Linked DNA regions of Homo sapiens: regions 1 and 2 are each linked to region 3. The links are contacts of gene promoters, found by promoter capture Hi-C in blood cells and fetal thymus (Javierre and others, 2016). All regions are on one chromosome and are shown on one strand. The core of a region is centred on a gene start or on the middle of the fragment in contact, and the rest is flanking DNA. Distances in the headings are between cores, read along the strand shown. Region 1 holds the start of TAOK2 (TAO kinase 2). Region 2 holds the start of TBX6 (T-box transcription factor 6). Region 3 holds the start of ZNF689 (zinc finger protein 689).

The links. Contacts are between HindIII fragments. The CHiCAGO score rates a contact against its expected background, and 5 or more counts as called.
Region 1: a fragment that was not itself captured here is called in contact with the fragment with the promoter of ZNF689 in region 3 in 2 of 17 cell types (naive CD8 T cells and total B cells); the score reaches 5.4 in naive CD8 T cells.
Region 2: the fragment with the promoter of TBX6 here is called in contact with the fragment with the promoter of ZNF689 in region 3 in 3 of 17 cell types (naive CD8 T cells, fetal thymus and erythroblasts); the score reaches 5.5 in naive CD8 T cells.

The regions. Positions count from the first base shown.
Region 1 is chr16:29,973,393-29,977,808 of GRCh38, forward strand. TAOK2 (TAO kinase 2) reads left to right here and starts at 476. Exons shown (of 16, transcript NM_016151.4): 1 at 476-1,256; 2 at 4,346-4,416. The coding sequence starts at 4,381. It overlaps LOC124903762, which reads left to right and starts at 230. Exons shown (of 2, transcript XM_047435036.1): 1 at 230-388; 2 at 605-1,243. The coding sequence starts at 230. The coding sequence ends at 1,243. RefSeq lists a silencer at 166-535 and enhancers at 959-1,730, 1,437-1,566, 2,368-2,869, 2,870-3,369. The HindIII fragment of the contact is 200 bases long and covers 2,164-2,363 here.
Region 2 is chr16:30,088,806-30,093,545 of GRCh38, forward strand. It overlaps TBX6 (T-box transcription factor 6), which reads right to left and starts at 3,119. Exons shown (of 9, transcript NM_004608.4): 1 at 3,068-3,119; 2 at 2,271-2,436; 3 at 1,953-2,187; 4 at 138-405; 5 at 1-34. The coding sequence starts at 2,388. It overlaps YPEL3 (yippee like 3), which reads right to left. Exons shown (of 4, transcript NM_031477.5): 4 at 3,509-3,994. The coding sequence ends at 3,905. RefSeq lists enhancers at 1,583-2,456, 3,589-3,778 and a silencer at 3,109-3,368. The HindIII fragment of the contact is 24,011 bases long and covers 1-4,740 here.
Region 3 is chr16:30,608,204-30,612,883 of GRCh38, forward strand. ZNF689 (zinc finger protein 689) reads right to left here and starts at 2,186. Exons shown (of 3, transcript NM_138447.3): 1 at 1,634-2,186; 2 at 1,322-1,435. The coding sequence starts at 1,838. LOC124903678 (a long non-coding RNA gene) reads left to right here and starts at 2,271. Exons shown (of 2, transcript XR_007065051.1): 1 at 2,271-2,560. RefSeq lists a silencer at 1,876-1,925 and an enhancer at 2,213-3,182. The HindIII fragment of the contact is 6,999 bases long and covers 1-4,680 here.

The sequences.
Region 1 (4,416 bases), core at 1,014-3,513, 630 kb before region 3:
ACGCGCAAAGATTCCTCGCACTTGGAGGCCCTTTTCCAGGTTAGATGGTTGCTAACCTCGGAGCAGTCTATTTTCCCGCCTTTTCCGCGCCCAGCAGCAGCTTCCTTTGCCCCTCCCAACTTCCACCCTGCGCGCAGTCGCAGATCGCCGCTGCTGTCCGTCCACCCGCGCCCCCTCAAAGCTTCCCCTAGCAACAAGCTCGGGCTCAGAGCGAAGGCGGGGCGAGCGCATGCGCTGCAGCTCTGTCCACCGCCAGTCGTGGGACAGAGTGCCGGGCTCCTCCCCTTGCAAGTCTAGCTCTTCTCCCCGCCTCCTCCGGCCTGGGGTCCGCGTGGCGGGGCGGGCGCGCACTCGGGCTTGGCGGCTGCCGGTCTCCCAGGCCGCGGCAGTGAGGAGAGAGGGCGGGGCTGAGTCCTCTGCGCCCCCGCCCCCTTTAGCCCGGCGTCCCTACCGCGCCTGCGCGCTCCCGCCCGGTCTCCATCTTGGAATTGGGAGGAAGAGGGAGAGGGAGACCGGGACGAGACCGGGGCTGTGGTGCGGAGAGAGGCTGAGACGGAGAAGAGGAGAGGCAGAGAGGGCGCGGGGACCGTCAGCAGCACCTTAGCTACAATCGTTCAGCTATTCTCGGAAGAGAGAAGGGAGAGGGAGGAGGCCGGGGCGGGAGTGGGGGCTGTCACCCTCGGACCCCGGCGTGAGAGGGGCCGTGCGGCCGGACGTCCTCGGGGTGGGCCCCCAGTCGGTGGCCGAAGACCTACAGCTCAGGCCCCTGGGTCCCAAATTTCCAGGCTTTGCCCCTCCTCCTTTCTCAGATACCCGGGTAACAGTCCTCATAGTCCAGATATCCGGGACTCGGGTCCCAACCTCTCTAAACCTGGGTCTCTGTTTCATAGAATTTCAAATATCAGGTTCAGGCCCCTGCGTGCACCAGTATCCGGGGTTCATTCCCCGGGCGTTCAAATATCGGATTCAGTCTCCATCCCGTTCAGATATTCGGGGTTCAGACCCCACAATCAGAAATCCGGAATTCGGCAGCTGTCGCCCTCGACGAGGGGGAGGACTGGACCGCGAGGTCAGATTAGGTTGTCACCCCCTCCCCTCCAGGGGAGGCTTCCCGGGCCCGCCCCTCAGGAAGGGCGAAAGCCGAGGAAGAGGTGGCAAGGGGAAAGGTCTCCTTGCCCCTCTCCCTGCTTGGCAGAGCCGCTGGAGGACCCCAGGCGGAAGCGGAGGCGCTGGGGCACCATAGTGACCCCTACCAGGTGAGACACGGGGTGCAGGGGCGCGGGTCCCTGTGTCTAGTTCTGAGAAGAAAGGGTGCGCCTTTCTGAGAAGCTGGACTTGGGTAGGCCCTCTCAGGATGGGGAAGCCCAGCTGAGCGAGTGGTCAGCCTCTGGCTAGCCTTGCCTTCTGTTGCCACCCCCTTCCCCTTCCTCTTCCCTTCATTGTGTCTGGTTGGTGGGGGACCTCAGGTGACAGGGTCTCTGATGTCACCGGCGTTCACACCCTAGGGTGCTTCAGCTAATCAGATGGATTTGCACTTCAGTCTTCTCTCCTTCACTTTGCCCCTCACAGCCACCTCTCCTCCCTGATATGTCCCGTTCTCCTGGCTATTCTGTGGTTTTGATTCCCATGCCTCTGATTCCCATGGTGGGTCTGCTTATCTGCTTTTCAGGCCTGGTCTGGTTGGATTTCTTGTCCTTGCAAGGAAGTGTGTGTATATGTGTTTGTGTGTATGCGTGTGTGTGTGTGCTTGGAGGTGCCTGGCAATGTTTTCCCCCAGCTGCAGTTACCTTCCAACCTCTTGCTGTGATGGTGTCAATAATCTCATCCATTTGTCAAACGATCTGTCTTTTACAAAGTGCTTTGACAGCCATTCTCTCATGTGACATCCCCGCATTCACCCTGTGGGGGCCTCTTTTATTGGCATCTTCCCATTTTACAGTTGAGAACGTTGAGGCCGAGAGAGGTTGCCCAAGGTCACACAGTGGCAGAACCAGAATTTGAACTCAAGTCCTCAATCACATCTTTCCCTGATGCATGCCTGGTTCTTGCCATCTCTTTTCCTCTGAGTTTGGGCTCGGCCAGGGGTCCCTAGGAGTCCAGGCTGGGGTGAGGTTTAAGAATGGGGATGAGATGAGCTTCCTTTCCAGGAGGGCTCTACTCAGAAGCTTTTCCTGATGGGAGCCTCTGGCTTTTGCCTCTGCCTCATGGAGTTTTCTATCCACTGTGACCTTCATCTTTACCCCAATCCCAGGGTTTGGCCTGGATTCCTGAGAGGGCTCTCTCCTGACAAATGGTAGCACTAGTGGCATCTTTTAACTGTTCAAGCCAAGCTGTTGGGGTAGAATGATCCCCCAAAGGATTAAAGCTTTGTGGGGACCTTGGAGGCAGGGAAGGAAAAATCCATATGCTGAGTGTCTGCATGGTGTTCCTAAGTATGAGATCTCATTAAAATCTTAACAACAGCTCCATGCTGTAATCCATTTCACTGAAGAGAAGACCAAGAACTGGAAGGAACTTATTTAAAGCCCTGTTGCTGTACATTGCAGACGGGATGTACTGGTAGCATAGCTTAGGAACAGATAGATACGGGTTTCCTCATCTGTAGAATGGAGATAACATTGTTCGTTTTGGAAGGTGGTTATGATTTAGCACAGACCTTGGTTATTGTTCAAGTGTTTGTTGTTATTATGGGGAAGGGGACCTGCATGATGTTTTGCCAGTGGGTGGCACCCCTCCGTGTGGCCTAGGTTAGCATTCTGGGGCCTTGTGTTGGTAAAGAGGTCAGGAAGATTCCTTTGGCAAGTTGAGAGCACCTGCCTTTGTGTGTGGGTGTGTGGTGCTGGTGAGGGGTGCTTGGCACTGTTGCTGGCAGAAGGGAGAAAAGGGCCGGCTTTGAGCAACCTGCGAGCTGCTGAGGGCTGAGCAGAGAGCAATCACTCAGTCTCCCAGGCTATTCTGAGCCCTCTGCACCCTGGGGGCCCACTGGAGAGTCAGGCTCCCTCCTTGCCCTCCAGCTTCCAGTTGGGCTGAGACAAAATTAACAACACAACAGGAAACAATGCATGACAGAATAAATTACATGCTAAAATTGTTAGGTGCTTTTGAGTAGCTAGAACTCTGCCCCAGGAGTCCAGCTCTGCTGAAGGCTCCTTTGTGCCTAAATTCTGACAAGTGCTTAGGCTGGAGCCTGTCTTGGAATCTCCTTGAGGGTTTTGGTTCTGGTATCCTGCAGGAACTTTCTCCGGGTGTTTGGTTGGGTGCCCTAGGTGCTCTTCCCAATGGCTGGAGTGGTCAGGACAGGCTTCCTGCAAGAGGGGAGCTGAGCTTGGGGTGACAGCTGAGAGAGTAATGGATACAGGCCTAACCGGGGAGCCGAAGGTCCTGTTCTCTGACCTTGGAGAAGTCCTTTTTCTTCTCTGTGCCTCAGTGACCTCACCTAGGAAATGGTGATCATGATTCTGCCCTGCCTGTTTCGAAGGGCTGCTCTGAAATCATAGTGATGGAGGACCAGCTTTGGACAAGGCACTTAACCTTGCTGAGCCTGTTTCTTTATCTGTAAGATAGGGGAAATCATAGTACTTGCTTCATAAGGTTGTAGTGAGGACTGAATAGAGATAATGCACGTAAGGTACTCAGTAAATGTTATTTGTACCCTGCAAATGTCCTGTACCTGTGTGTGATGCTTATGCAGTTGGACAGGACAAGTAAGGTGGCCCAGAGCACAGAGAGGCCCTCATAGCCAGATGCCATTTATATCCCTATTCTTCCCATTCTAGATCTCCCCCTGACTTTTTTGAGAGTGACTTTGCGGGCTCCTCTGGGCCAGTACCCACTTCTAACAATGGACGGATTTCCACCGCCTCCGGCCTGGCCATTTCCTGTTCTCTTCCAGGGTGTGAGAGGTTGAGGGAGGAGGGGGCCTCAGCGCCAAGGGGAACAGAAAGGTGCCTGGAAACAGTTGGGGTATAGGACTTATGGGACAGGACACTTGGGGCTCTGGAGTGCTGGCTGGGAAGCAGAATGTTTTATCCTTGAGGGGAGATACAGGGGCTATAGGGAAATGAGAACTTGTTGAGCACTGAAGGGGGTGGTGAGGATACTTAGCTTCCCAGAATCTTCCTAGCAGTTTTAGGGACTCCAGGGACCCAGCCCGCGTGATCTGGTTGCCAGGGCAACTTCATTTTTTGGAGCTTTGATGTTGTTCCTAATCTCCCCCTCCCCTTCCTCAGCAGTGCCTCCTCCTCATCAGGGAATGAGGGGAGGAGATGGCAGAAACTTGATGGGTCCCTTCCTCTCCCTGAAGGCTCAATCCTTGATCTCTAAGGGTCCCATTTCCATTCCTCAGGCCAGGCCCCACTCTCAGGGCCCCCAGGGGCCACCATGCCAGCTGGGGGCCGGGCCGGGAGCCTGAAGGAC
Region 2 (4,740 bases), core at 1,869-4,368, 520 kb before region 3:
GGGGTTGGTACTTGTGCATGGAGTGCAGGATCAGCTGGGAGGGAGGAAATGGGAGTGATTCCCTGCCCTGCGCCTCACCCTTGGCCTCCCTTCCAGCACCCCCCAACCCTATCCTGGAGTCCCAGCCTGGGCCTCACGTGGCCGTGGGGGTCCAGCGTGCTGTTGGTGAGCTTGACACGATGGAAAGACACAGGCTGCCGCATCCAATGTGCACCAGTGGCAGGAGAGTCGGGGTGAATGTAGACACGGTCAGGCAGGCGGGGCTCTGCCTTGCCGCTGGGCTCCCAGCGCCGGCCCTGCCAGCGGTAGCGAGCCCCATCCACCGGAATCACATCCAGAAGAAACAAGTAGCGGGCCTCGGGGTCCAGGCCAGTGACTGACACTCGGCAGGCAGGGAACATGCGCCTGTGCAAGGGAGGGGACAGGAGAGGCCTGGAGCTACCCACTGGCCAGGGGTGGGCCCAGCACCAGTAACGGGACATAACAACGGGCTCCCCAGAGCTGTCAGAGAAACATCAAAGGAGGTGGAATTAGAACCCAGAGGGCAGGCTGGAGGCTGTGGCTCACACCTCTAATCCCTATACTTTGGGAGGCCAAGGTGGGAGGATCTCTTGAGTCAGGAATTCAAGACCAGCCTGGGCAACATAGAAAGACCCCATCTCTACAAAAAAATTAAAAAATTAGCCAGGCATGGTGGTGCACACTGATAGTCCCAGTTACTACAGAGGCTGAGGCGGGAGGGTCACTTGAGCCTGGGAAGTCAAGACTACAGTGAGCCACAATTGCACCACTGCACTCCAGCCTGGGCAACAGGGCAAGACACTGTCTCTGAAAAATGAAAAAGGGCCAGGCGCAGTGGCTCATGCCTGTAATCTCAGCACTTTAGGAAGCCGAGGTGGAAGGATCATGAGGTCAGAAGTTTGAGACCAGCCTGGCCAATATGGTGAAACACCGTCTCTACTAAAACTACAAAAATTAGCCGGGTGTGGTGGTGTGTGCCTATAGTCCCAGCTACTCGGGAGGCTGAGGCAGGAGAATCGCTTGAATCCAGGAAGCAGAGGTTGCGGTGAGCTGACGAGATCGTGCCACTACACTCTAGCCTGGGCAACAGAGCGAGACTCCATCTCAAAAAAAAAAAAAAAAAAAAAAAGAAGCCAGAGGGCGGAATCTTAGAGCTGGAAGGTTTTCTTGTCTCATTTTACATTTGGGGAAACAGGACAGACGGGTTAAGTGATCTGTCACACAGCAGGTTAGGAACAGAGCCATGACTCCTACCCCTCAAAGCCTATTTGCAGAAGCAGGGGTGACTAACTTTCTTGCTAGGAGCTTCCTGTCCCCACCCTCCTCTCCTCCCCTGATCTCCAGCACCAGAATCTGCAGCTCTTAGATGAATTTGCTTTAGAAAAAATATACCCTGCCTGCAGTAGGGCCGAGGACTTTCCATGCTAGGGCTTGAGTTCCTGCCCCAGCTAAAGACCTCATCTAAGGTCAAACACTGACCGTGTCCCTGCCTCTAGGGTGACCCTGGACCTAGTCATATACTGACTCCTATTCGAGTTGCATACTGATCCCGAATCCTGGCCAGATTTCCCTGATGCTGGTCAATGGGCTGGCCCTTGACCCCCTGTCCTTGTCTGGATGCTGGTCTAAGCCACACACTAACCTATAACCCAGAGGGACTTCCTGACCCTGCCCCAGACTGACCCATGACCCTTGCCATAGATTGGTCCCTAAACTCAGCCACAGACTCCACAGACTGGCCCTTAACCCTTGTCACAGAGTGACTCCTGATTCCTGCCACAGAGTAACCCTTGCCCCAGGCCATAGTCAGATTCTAGGCCTAGGCAGAGCTCTAGCCCCTCGGGAACCACCCAGTCCTAGCCCCCTCCCCAGGGACTCTGCCTTTCCCAAGAGACCCCCACCAGAAACACGGACCCTGGCCAGCCCCTCACCTCCCAGCTTTGGTGATGATCATTTCTGTTCCCACAGAGCTGAACTCCTTCCATAGCTCCCGGTTCTCCAGGCTCAGGCTGACCCCCGGGAGGGAATGGAGGGCCTCTGGAGCTGATGGGGCCGGCTCAGTGCCCATGGCAGGGGGCAGAAGGGGCAGAGGTGGGTGCGCGGCCAGGGTGCGGGGAGCAGCCTCCATCCCGGAGAGGAAGCAATCCAGTTTAGGGGTGTCCAGTTCTGGAAGCCGGGGAAGAATGAGGAGCCAGCCGAGGGCCACAGCCCCCCTATTCTCCTACCCAGGAGCTGGTCCCAACGCTCACCGGGGTAGCGGTAGCCCTCCGCTAGGGCGGGTGGGAAGCTGGAGTCGGCCCCAGGTTGGGCGGGCCCCAGGCGGTAGCCGGCCCCCAGGGACGGGTACAATTCTCGTGGATGGTACATGTTGTAGTTCCGTCTGGCCTCAGGTCTCGCTGCTTAGGGCCCCCGGTGCTGCGAGATGCCCCCTTTATAGCTCACAGCTCAGCCCCTTCCAGATCCAGGATCACAGCCCCTCCCCTCTTTGGGGCCCTGGAGTTGGGCTGGGGTGGAGACCCCTGGGGCCTCGAAGGGGTCCGAGAGGGGGTCGGATACCTGGGTACGGTCCCCTCCTCCCCTCCCTCCCCACCCCGGGAGGCTTCATTAGCCTCGACCCCCTGCCCCCTCATTACATAATTAACTCCTCGGCTTGATTGATCCCCAGGGCTCGGACAGGGACGCAGTTTGGCGCTTCCGGCCAGCTGGTCCCCGTTCCCACGGTGGGGAGCCCCGGCTAGGGATAAGCTGGGGGGCGGGGCCTGGAACCTGGACGGAGCCAAGAGTCCCGGGACACACCTTGGCGCCCCAGACCTTCTGGCAGGTGACCGCCCTCCGCCCCCCTTCACTTGGAGGCCGGGCCCTGGAGGGAAGCAGCGTGAACAGAGGGAAAGTGCAGGCTAGAGGGACGCGGCCTGAGCTGATTTCACAGGGCACTCGGGGCCGCGAGGAGGCCGCAGCCCAGTCCCGAGCACCGTAGTCCTCCCTGGTCCCCATGCTAAAAAAACCTCCATCCCGAGCCAAGCCTCCAAAGTTCGAAGGCGCTCACAGTCCGACAGCTTCTGACGCCTCGCGCCAGGGTTTCCCGAAGGTCCCGCGCTGGGGAACCCTCGGAACTACACTTCCCGGCAGGCTCAGCGCTGAGGCGCGCCCGAAGGAGCCGGACGGACCACGCGGGGGCCGCTGGGAGTTGCAGTCCGACCGCGAGGGGGCTGCGAGGCCGGCGGCGCGGTTGCCTCCCTGGGACGCTGCCCCTAGGCGGCGGCCAAACGCTGCAGATGAGCAGACGCAGATCAGCCGAGGTCACGGCGTAGGCAGCCAGAGTGGGCTCAGGACCTCCGCCAGCAGTGAAACCGTCCCGGTTCCCGGAGACCCAGCTTGGACGGCTGTGCCTACCCCATGCCCCGCCGGGGCTCAGAACCGCACAGGTCTATAGGGGCGGAAATCTCCGCTTGAGCTCCCCCTTCCCGGATTACACGCGAGCCTGAGCTGTCTCCACTCCATTGTTTTATTATGTACAAACGCTACAGAACGAGGGGGACAGACACGCGTGGGGTAAGAAGGGCCTGGTGGGAGGAGTTCACAGAGCAGACGGTGCACTGGGACCAGGAGAGCAGAACACAGGCCATAACTATAGGGCAGGTGGGGCAGGAACGGGTTAAAAACGAGATCCAAGCCAGCCAGATCGCAGGAGGTGCGGGGGCGTCGTCCCCCTTCTGTTCTCCCCCCAAGGTCACAGTGCATGCAATAAAATATATATACAGGAGCTAGATCCGTCCTCTGCAGGGGCTCTGAGGGTCCAGAGCTCCCTTCGGGTGGCGGGAAGCCAGTGGCGCTCCCTGGCGGCCAGGCCGGGCTGGAGCCACATGCGTCGGGGGAGCGGGGGTCAGTCCCAGCCGTTGTCTTTGATCATGTGGTTGAGTTCAATGATGTACTTCCCCTCTTTGTACTTCTGGCTGCTCTCAAAGGCCTGTTCCTGAAAGGAGGGGCGGGACCGTCATCCCCGGAGCAACAGTCTCACCACAAGGCACTGGGGTTGGGAAGTGGACATGAGTGGCCCCATTTTACATATGAGGAAACTGTGGCCCAGAGGGGCAGGGCCGTATTTCTCACAAACACAGAGTAGAATAGAACTCCCTGACTCAAAGGTACTTTTTTAAGTACTAATGATGGCTCCAACAGAGAAGATAGGGAAGTGGCTAAAAGATTTCACAGTTCAGGGTTTGCAAACTGGTAGCTTCATGGCCATTTTGGCCTACAACATGTATTATGTTTGGACAGCAGACAGTTTAATAAAAATAACTTTAAAGTATTAAAATATAAGTAGGCCTTGCTCACTCCAGTTTGCCCAGCCTGCCCCCAACTCCCAACCCTGCCAATCTATGCTACCCTTTACACATCTACAGTATCTGCTTGGCCTTGCAGGCACTTGAGGTTTTTTTGTTTGTTTGGTTTTGAGAGGGAGTCTTGCTCTGTCGCCCAGGCTGGAAGTGCAACGGCGCGATATCGGCTCACTGCAACCTCCGCTTCCCGGGTTCAAGTGATTCTGCTGCCTTGGCCCCGAGTAGCTGGGATTACAGGCGCCCACCACCACGCCGAGCTAATTTTTGTATTTTTAGTAGAGATGGGGTTTCACCATGTTAGTCAGGCTGTTCTCGAACTCCTGACCTCAGGTGATCCACCTGCCTCAGACTCCCAAAAGTGCTGGGATTACAGGCGTGA
Region 3 (4,680 bases), core at 936-3,435:
AGACCACGCTTTGAGAACCACTGCTGTTAGCATTGTTAAAGACCTTGGACTGTATTTTACCCAATGGTTTTCTTTTCTTTTTTTTTTTCCCCCAAGATGGAGTCTCACTGTGGCACCCAGGCTGGAGTACACTGGCATGATCTCGGCTCACTGTAACTTCCACCTCCCAGGATCAAGCAATTCTCCCTGCCTCAGCCTCCTGAGTAGCTGGAATTACAGGCGCCCACCATAGTGCCCGGCTAATTTTTGTATTTTTTTAGTAGAGACGGGGTTTCACGATGTTGGTCAGGCTGGTCTTGAACTCCGGACCTCAAGTGATCTACCCACCTCGGCCTCCCAAAGTGCTGGGATTACAGGCATGAGCCACCAGCCGGCCGGTTTTCAAACCTAGATGCACATCTGAATCAGCTGAGGCTATTTAAAAAATGGAAGTTCCTAAACATTCACACGAGTGAATGAATAGCTCTGGGATGGGGTCCTGGAACCTGCGTTTTTACCAAGTTCCCCAAGTGATTTAGATATAACCAATGGCCATTTAACAACCTTGGCAAAAATTAACTGAAAAGTTTTAAGCAAGGAAATATCATGGTCAGATCTGAATCTTGGACAGCTATCCCTGGTCTTGAAGAATCTGGCTCTGAAATTCCAGCCCAGACAGCTCCATCTTCTACTATGGGTGGATCTGGGACCCTTCTACCTGAATGGGGTTAAGCAGAGCCTTGTTGGATTCTGAGGAGATTGCAGTATGTCCTTCGCTGATAAGGGTCATCCTGCCGTAAGAGCAGAAAGAGGCCCCTGCATCCCAGGCAGCTGTTCCCCATGAGCTCCCTTCAACCAAAACCCAGAAAACTCTGAGAAGTTTAGGATCTCTTTGGTCCAACTCAAAGGTGGCTAGAGGCAGAGATCCTGGAAAGGAGGCAGAGGGTAGCACCTGTTAAAAGCTCACTGATTCTGGCTGGCTGCAATGGCTCACGCCAGTAACCCCTGCATTTTGGGAGGCCAAGGCAGGAGGATCGCTTGAGGCCAGAAGTTCAAGACCGAACTGAGCAAGACAATGTTTCTACAAAAAAAAAAAAAAAAAAAAAAGACGAAGAATAAGCCCACTGATTCATTCACACAGTGGAAAACTGCAGCTTGCAGACTGACATAGGAATCTCTGTGTGGTGGACCGGCCCCACACCACCAGACACAAGAGGCTGGGAAGATGAATATACTAAATACGCGGCACCCACCCCTAGCCCAACCAAAACTCTGGACAGAGCCGTTAGAGGTAGAACGTTATAGGAGGGCTGCAGGCTCTGCGTGGTTATTTAGCACTCACTTCTCTGGACTGTTAGCCCTCTCGGGTACTCCTGCGGATCTAGAGCAGCCGGTTCCCAGTCATCGGTGTTTCGTTCCAACCAGGAGATGAGGGCTGGTTTGGGACCTGCGCACCCTGGGGAAAGAGAACAAATCAGAAGGCCAGCTCCTAGATCACGCCGAGTAGTATCTCCCCGACGGCACCTCCTGCTAAGCCCCTGCCCACCTCCCCTGACAACCTGGTCGCCTGCCAGGACCGTGGCCTCCCTGCCTACACCCTCTCCGGCTCCTGCATCCCTTCGCGCCCCGCGGCAGCGGATGGGGCCGGCCTCACCGAGCGCGCCCAGGTGACCGTAGGTCTCCCGCATCACGTCCCGGTACAGGGCCCTCTGCGCGGGCCGCAGGCAGCCCCACTCCTCCGGGGAGAAGTACACGGCCACGTCCACGAACTTCAGAGCCCTCGGCCTCCTGCCCCTTTTCCGACTGGGTCTGGCCTTTCCTGGTCCCTGCGCAGGGAGCGGAGCCGAAGGTGGCGCCATGGGACCCGAGAAGCCGGCGCCACGGCCTTCCGTGTCCAGGCCTCGGCCCTCGGGCGCTGGCGGCCCCTGGGATCGAGGAGCCCCTGCCGGACCAGGGCTGAGCGTGGCCGGGGAGGCCCGGAGGGAATCGGAATTGGTCGCCCGCGGGGCTAACGGAAACCTTTTGCTGTTATTCAGGAAACTCCTGCCCGAACTTGGGTGAAAGGCACCGGAAGATGCCTTCGGGGAAAATGGCGGCGCTGCTACCGCACCGCCTTTGCCTGGAACACAGGCAGCTTCCAGCTATCGATTTTATTGACCGGAGCGCCATGCCGGCTTCCTAACCTCTTTGCCCTCAAGTGTAATGGCGCTGCGATTGGGCTTCACGCCGTCTTTTTTCCCCTCCCCAATACGCGCGTTCATTGGACGAGAGCCGAAGATCGAGCGTTCTGATTGGGTGCTAGCAAAGGCGGTCCGTTTGAACGAAGCCAAGAGCTGCATAAGGGCAGGAAGCTGGACTGCTAGGATCAGGCGACTACAAGGAGTTGTGAAGCGACTTGCACCGACCTGGGGGCAGCAAGAGGCCCCGGGGCTGCTTTCCGCTGTTCGACTCTGGCAGGCTCAGCCAATCACTGAAGGAGGGAACGATTTGAGCGATGGAGCCACTCTGGCCGAGTTAGAGCTGAGATTATCCTGAGTTCCTTTTACTGGTGTTCTCAGAGCATCCTTGACTTTGGAGAATGGTTATCTTCTTTGTTTGCCCTTTAGGGGAGGGAATTATGGTTAGCATTTCCTGGGGGCAGGCGCCATGCCCAGCATATTACATATTTCATCTTTATTATTTTTTATTTTTATTTTATTTATTTATTTTTGAGACAGAGTCGTGCTCTGTCGCCCAGGCTGGAGTGCAGTGGCGAAATCTCGGCTCACTGCAGCTTCCACCTCCCACGTTCAAGCGATTCTCCTGCCTCAGCCTCCCGAGTAAGTGAGATTACAGGCGCGTGCCACCACTCCTGACTAATATTCATATTTATTAGCAGAGATGGGGTTTCACCATGTTAGCCAGGCTGGTCTCGAACTTCTGACCTCAAGTGATTCACCCACCTCGGCCCCACGAAGTGCTAGGATTACAGGCGTGAGCCACTATGCCCGGCCTTATTTTTATTTTTTTGAGACAGGGTCTCACTCTGTTACCCGGGCGGGATGGAATGCAGTAGTGCAATCTCAGCTCACTGCAGCCTCTAACTCCTGGGCTCAAGCAATCGTCCTGCCTCAGCCTTCAGAGTAACTGGGACTACTGGTGTGCACTACCACGCCTGGCTAATTTTTTATGTTATTTGTTGAGTCAGGGTTTCCCTGTGTTGCCCAGGCTGGTCTCGAACCCTTAGGCTAAGTGATCCTCCTGCCTCGTCCTCCCAAAGGGCTGGGATTACTGGCATAAGCCACAGCACCGGAGCCATTAGTTATTCGCTTTTTTTTTTTGAGACTGGGTCTCATTCCGTTGCCCAGGCTGGAGTGAAGGCATGCACCCACAGTGCTCTGCTAATTTTTTGTATTTTTGGTAGAGACGGTGTTTCGCCATGTTTCCCAGGCTGGTCTCGAACTCCTGAGCTCAAGCAATCCGCCCACCTCGGTCTCCCAAAGTGCTGGGATTACAGGAGTGAGCCACCACACCCAGCCCGTTATTAATTCTTTACTAGCATTTTGTGAACCAATGGTTATCATCCTGGTTCTACTAATGAAGAAACGATCTCAGAGGGATTCCATGAGTTTCCAGGGCCATACTGCTAGTAAGGAGTGGGGAATAAAGATTTAAACCTGGGGCAGACAGAGCCTTTATTCATACCACTGATAGGCATCCTTCCTTCACAGTATCCTAATTTGCTTGCTAAACCAGGAATCCACCTGAGCTCTTGTTTTCTTCTCAAGTTCAATATTCTGCATAATCTCCCTACATTATTTTCACGTGACATTTGTTCAACGTACAAAGCATAGTGCTAGGCAATTGGGAGAGCGTACATAAATAAGTCATAGGCCATGCTTTGAATGGAGCTTACAGTCTAGTAAAGCATATAAATTCACAATGAATCATAACAGAATGATACAAGCATGTATGTGAAAGGCACTGAACTGAAAATTGCTGATGGAACAAGCCAGCACCCACCCCATTAGCCTCCACATTTTTTTTTTTTTTTTTTTTTTGAGACGGAGTCTCGCTCTGTCACCCAGGCTGGAGGGCAGTGGCGCCATCTCGGCTCACTGCAAGCTCCGCCTCCCGGGCTCACGCCATTCTCCTGCCTCAGCCTCCCGGGTAGCTGGGACTACAGGCGCCCGCCACCACGCCCAGCTAATTTTTTGTATTTTTAGTAGAGACGGGGTTTCACCATGTTAGCCAGGATGGTCTTGATCTCCTGACCTCGTGATCCACCCGTCTCAGCCTCCCAAAGTGCTGGGATTACAGGCGTGAGCCACTGTGCCCAGCCCTTTTTTTTTTTTTTTTTAGACGGAGTCTTGCTCTGTTGCCCAGGCTAGAGTGCAGTGGTGCAAACTCGGCTCACTGCAACCTTGGCCTCCCGGGTTCAAGTGATTCTCCTGCCTCAGCCTCCCGAGTAGCTGAGATTACAGGCACCCGCCACTTTGCTCGGCTAATTTTTGTATTTTTAGTAGAGACGGGATTTCACCATCTTGGCCAGGCTGGTCTCGAACTCCTGACCTCATGATCCAACCACCTCTGCCTCCCAAAGTGCTGGGATTACAGGCATGAGCCACCACGCCCGCCCTAGCCCCTACTTCTATGTATGTGTTATACTGCAGAGTTTCACCAGCTCAATGCCACCCCCAAGGGTCCTGCGAGCAGGAGAAT